Linked DNA regions of Homo sapiens: region 2 is linked to region 1. Evidence: promoter capture Hi-C in human tissues and cell types (Jung and others, 2019). All regions are on one chromosome and are shown on one strand. The core of a region is centred on a gene start or on the middle of the fragment in contact, and the rest is flanking DNA. Distances in the headings are between cores, read along the strand shown.

Region 1 (4,841 bases), core at 2,123-4,622:
TCTCTCTCTCACACACACACACACACACACACACACACACACACACACACGAGTCCTCCTTCTCAAAGTTGCTTCTTAAATCACAGGCAACCTTCTGCTTCAGTTCTGCAGTTGGGAAGCCTACACTAGTGTCATTCAGGACACTGAGAAATTTGTCTTTTCAGAAAAAAATAAGGAAATGAAACTGCAATATTTTAAGGCACCTGGGGAGATGAAATAAGAAGGTGGACTCTGGGAATCTAATAGGAAATAACATCGTTGGCATAGAATTTGTAACCACCCTCCTCTCTGTGAAAGGGAGCATTACTGGCACTGTCCCAAGGCAAGTCCTTCCTCAAGTATCTGGAAATGCCTCATTAGAGAGGCAGGCTGATTGCCAAGGTAAGGATCACGTATAACGCACACTTAGCACGTGGACCCTGCCCTGTGGTCCCCTACAGACACAAGGTCTCAGGTTTCCTAAGAAAGCCATGATGAATTAAAAGGAAGAAATGTGCCTTTCCTGCAAACAGCCTGCAATATTTCATTCTCCAATTATCCACAGAGAAGTCTCGCATGGCTGAAGGAGCAAACTTTTTTTCCCCATCTCCCAAATAACAGATGAAGAGAAAACTCTGAAGTGGCCCAGAAGAGCAAAGCCCATAGCAAGCTGCGTCAGTCAACCCTGACAAGCCAACTATTTATTTTCATGAGGCTCCGATGGCAAGGCAAAGACGAGGGCAGCCGGGCAAAGCAGAGCCCTTAGAGCCTTATGCCTCCACTCCTAGTAATCAAAATGAATTCAATTTCCTAGGCCTGTCCTCTCCTGGGCCTCCAGCTGCTTTCTGCAAGTCACCTGTTGACTCCTGTTACCCTACCCCACCCAACCAGGCTTTCCATCAGCGAAGGCTAGAAGTGCCAGGATGCCGCCACCAGGTGGACCGAATTCCTCCTCTGCTTGCCATTCCCCTGTTCTGGGATTAAAGTCAACCTCCTATCTCCTGGGGCCAGCCCTGCCTCCAGAAGTCCACCACTCCAGGAGTACTCGGCTTCTTAACTTTCTAAAGGAGCTAGGCCATTCATCTAGTTGCAGCCCAGCTTCATTTATTTGTCAAATCCTTAGATCACTGCAACCGAAAAATAGTAAGCCCACGCTTTTATCACTCCTGGGGTGAAAAGTTCTGCGGGTGTTTGCCACACATGAATAATGCACTCTACCGAGCAAAATTGGTTTGAGGCAAACAAACCGTTAAAGTGGAGGCAGCTGTTGATATACTAATTACCTCCTTCTAAACATAGACCCGGTTAGGTATTATGTACTTTGCATATGTCACAGTACAGACCCACATATATTTTATTAATGTGAATTTGCATCTCTGTAATACATGTACTTATTTAAATATTTTAACAGTTAAATTTCCCCTAAGGAAGTGCCGATAAACTGACTCCCAAAACACAATTATCCCCTATCCCTCAAATTCCAAGGGCTAATAGGTACTGTCTGCAACTGCATATTATAACTATAGACACAATAAGTGTATTTTATAGAACAGAAAACAAGGTATGCTTTTGACTACAGGGTTCACTTGCAGTCTACAAGTTACGAATGCACAAGACAGAGACCGGGATGTAAACGCTTTTCGTCTCAGAATGAGCAACAGAAATGTATTTGATTTTCAAAAGCCCTGAAATTCTGTCACCCCAGGAACAGAGCTGAGTTTGAAGACCCCCTCTCTCACAACCACCTAACTTCCTCAACACCGGAGACCAAGCACTGCTTGTATTTCCCTTTAACAGTGAGCCCTGAGCCTTAAGAGATAGTTTATGAATGGTATACAGCCCCCAGCGTCTGGCCCTCATGAACTTTACCCCAAGGCCAGGAATGAGGGATTAATCATAGCATCAGGATACGCGTGGTTCTATCTCTGGATGTGGTTATTCAATGGCCAAAATCTTGTCCAATTCTATCTCCATCAAACTTGCTCAGGAATACTCAAAGTCTATGACATTTGATTCCAGTTGCGGGTCAATAGCCAAGTAATGATTTAACACTATAAACTCTCAAAAAAAATTTCCCGTTTAGACAGGACTGTACTTAGGTGTGGAAGCACGCTCTCTGGAACTCAAGTTGCGACCACCTGAGCAGAGGAGGCGAAAGCGACAAAGTAGGTACCTGACAGTGCTGAGTCATTACAAGCTGTTTCCTCTGAAATGTTACGCACCCATGGGCCCTCTGAGCATTAACATCCCCTTTCTGGAGGCAAATAAAATACATATTCATTGTGGAAAATGGTGCAACCTTCTGTAGGCGACAGACCACGATGGGGAATTTAGCACTAAGAGTGGATAGCAGGAACTACACAAACTCGCAGCTGCTCTCTAGGTACCGTAACTTTATCCCAGACGCTCAAAGAGGGCTATAGGGATACCGGGTGGCAATATTCCCCCTGCAGCCCCGGCTCAGGCCAGGGCCACACTAGGGCGCATTTCACTCTAAGCTGTTATATCCCCCTGTAATTGGCGGATGTAGAAAGCGCCCGGAGAAAATGATGCATAATAGATTTGTTCTCGAGGAGGATGCAATGGAGAGTAGAGGACGCAGGATGCTAACTGGTTTTTCTTCCCATGTGCAGGTCACCTGAAAACCCCGACGCTTTTTCGTTCCTCTCCAAGGAGAACCCTGAACTCACCGTCTCGCTCCGCTCTTATGGGGGGAGAGGAATAGTTTCACGCCCACCTGCCCGCCGCCTCTCCTCCCCCGGCACCCCCTGCCCCAGCCGGACGCGCGCGAGCTGCTACCGGCATCAACGGTCCCGCCCGCTACCCGCTCGCTGGCAGCCCCGGCCGGCAGCTCCCCCGGCGGCCGCCTCTGCACCACTCGCCAACCTCCACGCCGGGCCGAGGTCATGCCCGCCTGCCCCCAGCGCCGGGCGGCCCCCTCGTCGGGCCAGGCGGCCGCTCGAGAGCCGGGCTGGGGAAGGGGCCCGCGGCGGAGTTGGCTCGGGGACTCACCAGGTAGGCGCCCACCGTGCCCTGCGCCAGCATCAGGGCGCACTCGGACACCAGGAAGATCTTGATGTTGGAAAAGCAGGACACCTTCTTTTTCTTTTTCTTGTTCCTCTGCGCCTCGTCCCCCTGCAGCTCGCCGCTCCGGCCGCCGCCCGACGAACCGCCCGGCTTCTTCCCCTGCATCCTTCCCCCGCCGCCGCCGCCGCCGCCGCCGCTGCCGCTTTCCCGCTCGCCCCGGGTGTCGGGGCCGCTGCCGGGCGGGGGTGCGCGCCTCGAGGCTGCGTGCTGTCCCCGCCCCGGGTTCGCGGCGGCCGCCCCCGTCCTGCCGGGGCTGGAGAGGTGGAAGGCACAGCTCCTCGCCGCCGCCGCCGCCGCCGCGATCGCCCCTTCCTCCTCCTCCTCCCCCGCCTCCGCCCTCCCCTGGCCTCCTCCTCCGGCTCCGGCTGTGCCAATCACAGGGGCTCGTCGCGCCGCCCGCCGCCGCCGCTGCCTCGCCTCCCGCGGCCGCCCGCCGCTGCCATCGCCCGGTTCCCCTTGCCCGCCGGCCGCGCCTGCTCTCACCCCCTCAGCCCCAGCCCCAAGGCCTGGGCCTGGGCCGCCGCTGCGCGCCCTCGCCGAGCCGCTCCTCGCTGCCGGTGCGCCCCCGGGGAGGCACGGGAGGCGGGCTTGGGATGCGGAGGGCGGCCCGGCGGCCGAGGCTGGGAGGGTCCGGCTGCCGGGAGAACTGGGGAGACCCGGAGTCCTTGCGGAGTAAGGGGGGTGCCCCTGAGGGCGGGAGGCGGCGCCCGGCCCCTAGGTGGCGCTGCGGGGCACGGGGCCCCGCGGCGGAGACTGGCGGCTCTGCGCCGGGCGCGGAGATGGGGTGCGGAGGCGCCCCCGCGGGGCTGGGACCCGGCGCTCGGGAACCCGGGTGCCCAGGCCTCAGAGGGCAGGCTGTTCCCAGGAAGGGAGAATACTGAGTACCCAGGAAGGGCTTGGCGCGCGCTCTTCTCCGCCCGGGGATTTCTGGGGACAGATGTTGTGCTCTGGGTCTTGGGGAGGTGCCAGAGGTCAGAGCTGCTTGAGGCTTCTGCCGCCTGCCGGTTTCTGCCCCAGCTGTCCCCGGCCACAGGGGGTGTTGAAAAGGCCCCAGACCGAAAGGACAGAAAGGGGAAGTTAGAGGAATACGTCGGGAGCCCCACGGACCGTTAGTGCCCCAGCCTCGGTGTCCAGGCGCTGCAAGATCGCCGCGGCCCCAGCAGAGGGCCTTCTCCGGCCCTTCATCCGCCCAGGGCCCCGCTGCTGGAGCGCTCAGCAAGCGGCCAGCCGCAGGCCTGCTGGGTCCCCACCCGTCCCCTGGCTCTGTGGCCCTGGCCACCATCCTCGGCCTTGACCTGAATGCCTGGCCCATGGCAGCCGCTCCTAATTACTCCCCACTCTCACCGTTACCAAGGAGTGTGGGCCACAGGGCACTACCAATAGGATCTGCTAGTTCTCAACTGCAGCGTTTGGAAGCTGAGAGAAAAGCTCAGAGGGCTGGACAGGTACCAGGAAACAGCACCTTCCACCTGGGCCATTGGGGGACTCAAGGAATCATTTAAAACGGTTTCCTTAATAATTGTGTCAAAGAAAATGACCCACTCTCCCAAGCGCCTGTGTCCAAATGCAGGCTCAACTTCAAAACTGAATAGCAATGAACCCGACCATATTTTTCCTTTCTCCCGAAGAACTTGAATGAGAATGGAGGGTGTAATGGTGGGGATGTTGTTTTGCCATGGCATTTAAATATAAACTGCTTCATCCTTCTGTGGCTCCAGACGTGATCTCACCCAGGCTTGGTGTCGCTTTGAGATGCCCTCACCTTGTCTAGGCCA
Region 2 (4,921 bases), core at 1,497-3,996, 820 kb before region 1:
ATCACCAAATAGCCTCTGCCCTTAGTGACAAAGCAGATCCGGAGCCCGGGGAAGTGTCCTGTCCTCTAGCCCCGAGTCTCCAACCTCTGGCAGCCTGTGTGTCTGACAATCTCTGTCTGATTCTGATCTGTAGCCAGCACGAGTGTTCCAGACCACCAGGGAAAAGATCATTGAGGATTGACAGCTACAATAGAGTTATTTTTTACCATCTCTTAATTAGGTGTAAAATAAAACTAGGCATAAACTGTTTATGCTTCAAGCTCTTATGCACCTATAAAACCAAAAACAAATTTACAAATTGAAAGCAGAAGAGAGTACATAGGCACATCTAAACGACATTATTTTGATGGGACTTATGATGAGCTGTACTAAAAATAAATGCCTATTGTTGGCTTAATAATGAAAAGATGCAGCCTTGGGTCTAGTTTTATATCTATTGCTGTATTTTGACTTTAATAATATCCATGCAAAGACTGTCTCTTATTAGAATGAGGCACACATGGTATTTAACGTCAAGGCTGTATTTGCTACTGCTGGACAATCAGGCACTATATGGCCCTTGATAAATGTGTACATGGCTCACATTCACTTAAGGATATAATTAGCATTATAGCTTTATTAAAATCTACCTCAACTGGGGTTTCTCTTCCCATTTTTTTTGGAATGGGAGAAGAAAATATCTTAGTAAATGTATATTTACTACTCACTGCTAATGAACTGCTGCAAACACTTACGTTTTGACAGGATGCACAAACTGCATCTGTTTCTGCAGCTAATTTGAGACTAACAACTACTTGCTGGTCATTTGGAGTCTGTTTTGCTTCAATTGCTTTGTGCCATGGGAGGATTTGGTTCCCTGCTTGGTCCTTCTATCTGAACTAATTCGAAATCTGTATGTGTGCATTGCCTTTACACAACTCAAAGATCAGCTAGGTGTGGTGGCTCACGCCTGTAGTTCTAGCTACTCAGGAGGCTGAGGAGGGAGGATGGCTTGAGTCTGGGAGTTCGAGGCTGCAGTGAGCTATGATCATAACACCGCACTTCAGCCTGAGTGACAGTGAGAGCCCTGTCTCACAAAGCAAACAAATGAAAACCCCTCAAATACCGAATTTTGTAGGGGCACTCAAATCTTGCAGTCTTTTATAAAGGGGCAACCAGTTAATGACAATAGTAATATTTTTAGATTATTAGCAAATTGAAAATGCAAAGAAAAAAAATCCTCATACAGAACTGGCGGGTCCCTGAGAACATGTCTGTGGACTCCAGTTTGAGAAACACTGGCTAGAAAATGGAACCATCTGTCCCCTTAAGGAAGACACAGATGAAGTGACCTCTTTTTCATTTCTTCAACTTCCTGGGGGAATATCAAGCTGTGAAGGCTCTGAAGGGATAGGCAAGCTGTGAAAAGCTGTTAGGAACTTGGGGACAGGCCAGGAATGGTTAGGGAGCTGAGAATTCTCCAGTTCCTGCCCTGAAGACAAAGTGAAGGGAACAGAGGGTATTAAACACTTGCGGTTGACAATAGCTAGAGTAGGGATAACTTTGGAAAGACCCAGTACAGCAATTAAGAGGTAAAGAGCCACAACCCAGTGCCCTAAGGCAGAAGTTCTCAACTGGCTGCCTATTAGACTCCTCAGGGGAGCCCTTTAAACGTGCTGATGCATGGATCCATCAAAGATTTGAATTAATTGGCCTGGAGTTGAGCATCAGTGTTTGTAAGGTCCTCCAGGGGATTCTAATGTGCAACCAAGGTGGCTGATCCCTGTCCTAAGGGAAGCCTTCTCTGTGGTATAATTACATTTAAGGCCACCTGTATTAATTTGTTTAATGGGGAGAAGGGAACAAACCCTTATTGAATGCACTGTGCTAACTCTTTAAAAAAAGTGAATATAAATAGCAGCTAACATTTATTGAAAGCTTGTTATATGCCTGGCATTGTGTTAAGCACTTCATATGCTTTTTTTTTTTTTTTTTGAGATGGAGTCTCCCTCTGTTGTCCAGGCTGGAGTGCGGTGGCGCGATCTCGGCTCACTGCAAGCTCCGCCTCCCGGGTTCACGCCATTCTCCTGCCTCAGCCTCTCGAGTAGCTGGGACTACAGGCGCCCGCCACCATGCCCGGCTAATTTTTTGTATTTTTAGTAGAGACGGGGTTTCACCGTGTTAGCCAGGATGGTCTCGATCTCCTGACCTCGTGATCTGCCCGCCTCGGCCTCCCAAAGTGCTGGGATTACAGGCGTGAGCCACCGCGCCCAGCCCCTACATGCATTTAATCTTTACAACATTCTTACGAAATTGGTATTATGTCCATTTTACAAATGAGGAAACAGAGGCCGAGACCAAGAAATTTGCCTTCAATCATTCAGTAACAAACAAATATACAAATGAAAATAATAACTTGCCTAAGGTCATACAGCGAGGGGATGGGATCCGAACCACGGCCTTTAGTTCCTCCACTGCCTCCACACTACCTCAATAATGCGTTCAGCACCTATTTATTGAGTATGGGCTATATAAGTGCCTGACACCAGGATAGGTGTTGGGGACACGAAGATGATCAAAGTAAGCTTTCTGCTGCCTCCAATCTTATCAGAAAGACAGCTAACTCCAAAACAATGTGATCTGTGCTATTAGAGTTGCCCTTGTTTGCCCCGGACTCTCCTAGTTTTAGCACTGAAAGTCTCACATTCTGGGCAACTTCTTCATTCCTGCCTGGACTGGGACAGCTGGTCCACCTTAACTGTCCTAGAGGAATGTGTGTGGGCAGGGGTGAATTTGTATGGGGTGGTGGGGGATTGTGCAGAAGAGATTAGCAAAATCTTCACAAAGGAGCTTATGTCTTGTTTGTAGAATGATTAGGAGGAGTTCTTTAAGCAAAAAATGGAGAGGAGAGGGTTAAGGAAGAGCATTCCTGGTGGAAGAACCAGGGAGCAGTTTAGGCAAAGGCTCGGATGGAAGGAGTTTAGTAAAGTTAAGAGTTTGGGGTGCTGGGAGGTAAGGGTTAGATGAAGCTAGGAGTTTAGTGAATTTAGAGTTTGGGGTGCTGGGAGGTAAGGGTAGATGAAGCTAGGAGTTTAGTGAATTTAGAGTTTGGGGTGCTGGGAGGTAAGGGTAGATGAAGCTAGGAGTTTAGTGAATTTAGAGTTTGGGGTGCTGGGAGGTGGGGGTGGGGAAGCTGGGCCCATACTAAGGAATTAGGACTCTACTGGCAGAGTTTAAACCCCATAAGGGTTTTCAGCAAGGGAGTATTATGCTTGATTTTGCATTTGGACAGATCACTCTGATTACGATGTTAGGGTGGGAATTCTCCTGAAGAGAGGAGCCTGGAGTCTTGGAGAACGGTTGGAAGGATGTTATAATACAGGTGACACATGAGGACAGGAAAGAACAACAATAAGAAACATAATATGTAATGTTTATTGATGACTTAATACGTACCAGTTATTATGCTAAGTTCTCTACATGTGCTATCTCATTTAATCCTAATGATAAGTGAGCTGCTATCTTTATGCCCATATTACAGGTGAGGAAATTGAGACTTAAGGTTTAATTTAGTGCAAGTTACACTGAGAGTAAATGGCAAAGCCAAGATTCCAGCTCTTGCCTTCTGACTTTAAATACGTGCACTCAACTCCTGTTGCTTGCTATAAACTACGGCAGTAGGTACTTATCCATTCAGTCCAGCAACATTTATTGAGCACTTACTGTGTGCCAGATACATTTCTGGTTGATGAAGAAATAGCCAATGAACAAAACAGACACAACTCCTGATTTGATGGACATTACGTGTGTGTGTGTGTGTGTGTGTGTTTTGAGAGACGTATAAACAAACAAGTTACACTAACTTACTCGTGGTTGGATTTGGACTGTTTCTGGAGAGAAGAGGAAGGACTTAGTAATGGGGGGATTGTAGGGGGACCCCTAGGTTCCTGCCTCCGCCAAGTGCAGTGTGGTGGCCAGCAGAGCGTAGGAGCTCTGGAGGTAGGGCAGGTTTTGGGGAACGATGAAGAATCTTGTGTGGGACATGCTGGGTACCTGAGAACCCAGGGAGAGGGGCCAGAGTGAGAAAAGAACTCAGCAGGAAGCCCTGGGGACTGAGTTAAAAGGGAGAGGAGCCAGCTCCCGAGAGAGGGGACAGAGAGGTCAGAGGGAAGATAGAAAACTGGAGACCTCCAAGGCAGGAAGCCCTGGCATCATCAAATGCCACTTAGAGGTTCAGGGAGGGCAAAAGGGAGACACACAAAGTTGTAGGCTCTCCCCTCCCGCTCCCCCTCCCTCCCTCCCATTCCCCCTCCCGTTCCCCCTCCCTCCCTCCCTCCCTCCCTCCCTTCCTTCCTTCCTTCCTTCCTTCCCCTCTCCTCTTCCCCTCTCTCTCTCTTTCTCTCTCCCTCTCTCCCTCTTGGTTTCTCTTTTCTTTTCTTTCTCAGTGAGAAACCAGAATGGGAAATATCTACTGGAGGGTGAAGATACAGGAGGAAGCAGAGGTAATGCGTGAAGCAGAGCCTCAGAGGAGGTGGAGGAGGGTTGAACTCAGGGCCAACGTGTGGGGGCTGGTCTCAAACAGGAGGGTGTATCCCTGAGGCTGGAGAGGAGTGAGAAAAAAATGGTCAGGAACGCAGAGCAGCGCCTCTCGGGAAGTGGCTGCCAACGTTACTTGTGAGGTGGAAATGTCCAAAGTGGGTCTAGGATGCATCAACACAGGGGTGAAGGTTTGGGCTCCACACTGTGGGGAACAGGAGAAACAGCCATCCACCCGGGGCCATCCCCAAACTGACCTTTTCTGTGTCCCTAACCCTCAGAGGCCCGAGCTCTGCCTGGGAATTAAAACACAAATTCCTGCAAACGTGAGGTCTAACTCCACTGTCACGGAGAGGCTGACGATGCCAGCTGTGGGAATTGCAGTGGGGACAGGTATGGAGAGGAT

What was found. The method cuts DNA at HindIII sites, captures the fragments that hold promoters and counts their contacts. A contact is called where the count stands out against the background at its distance.
Region 2: a contact is called between a fragment that was not itself captured here and the fragment with the promoter of SLCO3A1 in region 1, in 2 of the 25 tissues and cell types used here (bladder and dorsolateral prefrontal cortex).

What each region holds. Positions count from the first base shown.
Region 1 is chr15:91,852,239-91,857,079 of GRCh38, reverse strand. SLCO3A1 (solute carrier organic anion transporter family member 3A1) reads right to left here and starts at 3,372. Exons shown (of 10, transcript NM_013272.4): 1 at 2,992-3,372. The coding sequence starts at 3,171. RefSeq lists silencers at 3,768-3,907, 3,776-3,950. The HindIII fragment of the contact is 13,420 bases long and covers 1-4,841 here.
Region 2 is chr15:92,667,458-92,672,378 of GRCh38, reverse strand. No RefSeq gene overlaps it. Among named protein-coding and RNA genes, the nearest start is that of FAM174B, 14 kb to the right of the region's middle. The HindIII fragment of the contact is 4,660 bases long and covers 417-4,921 here.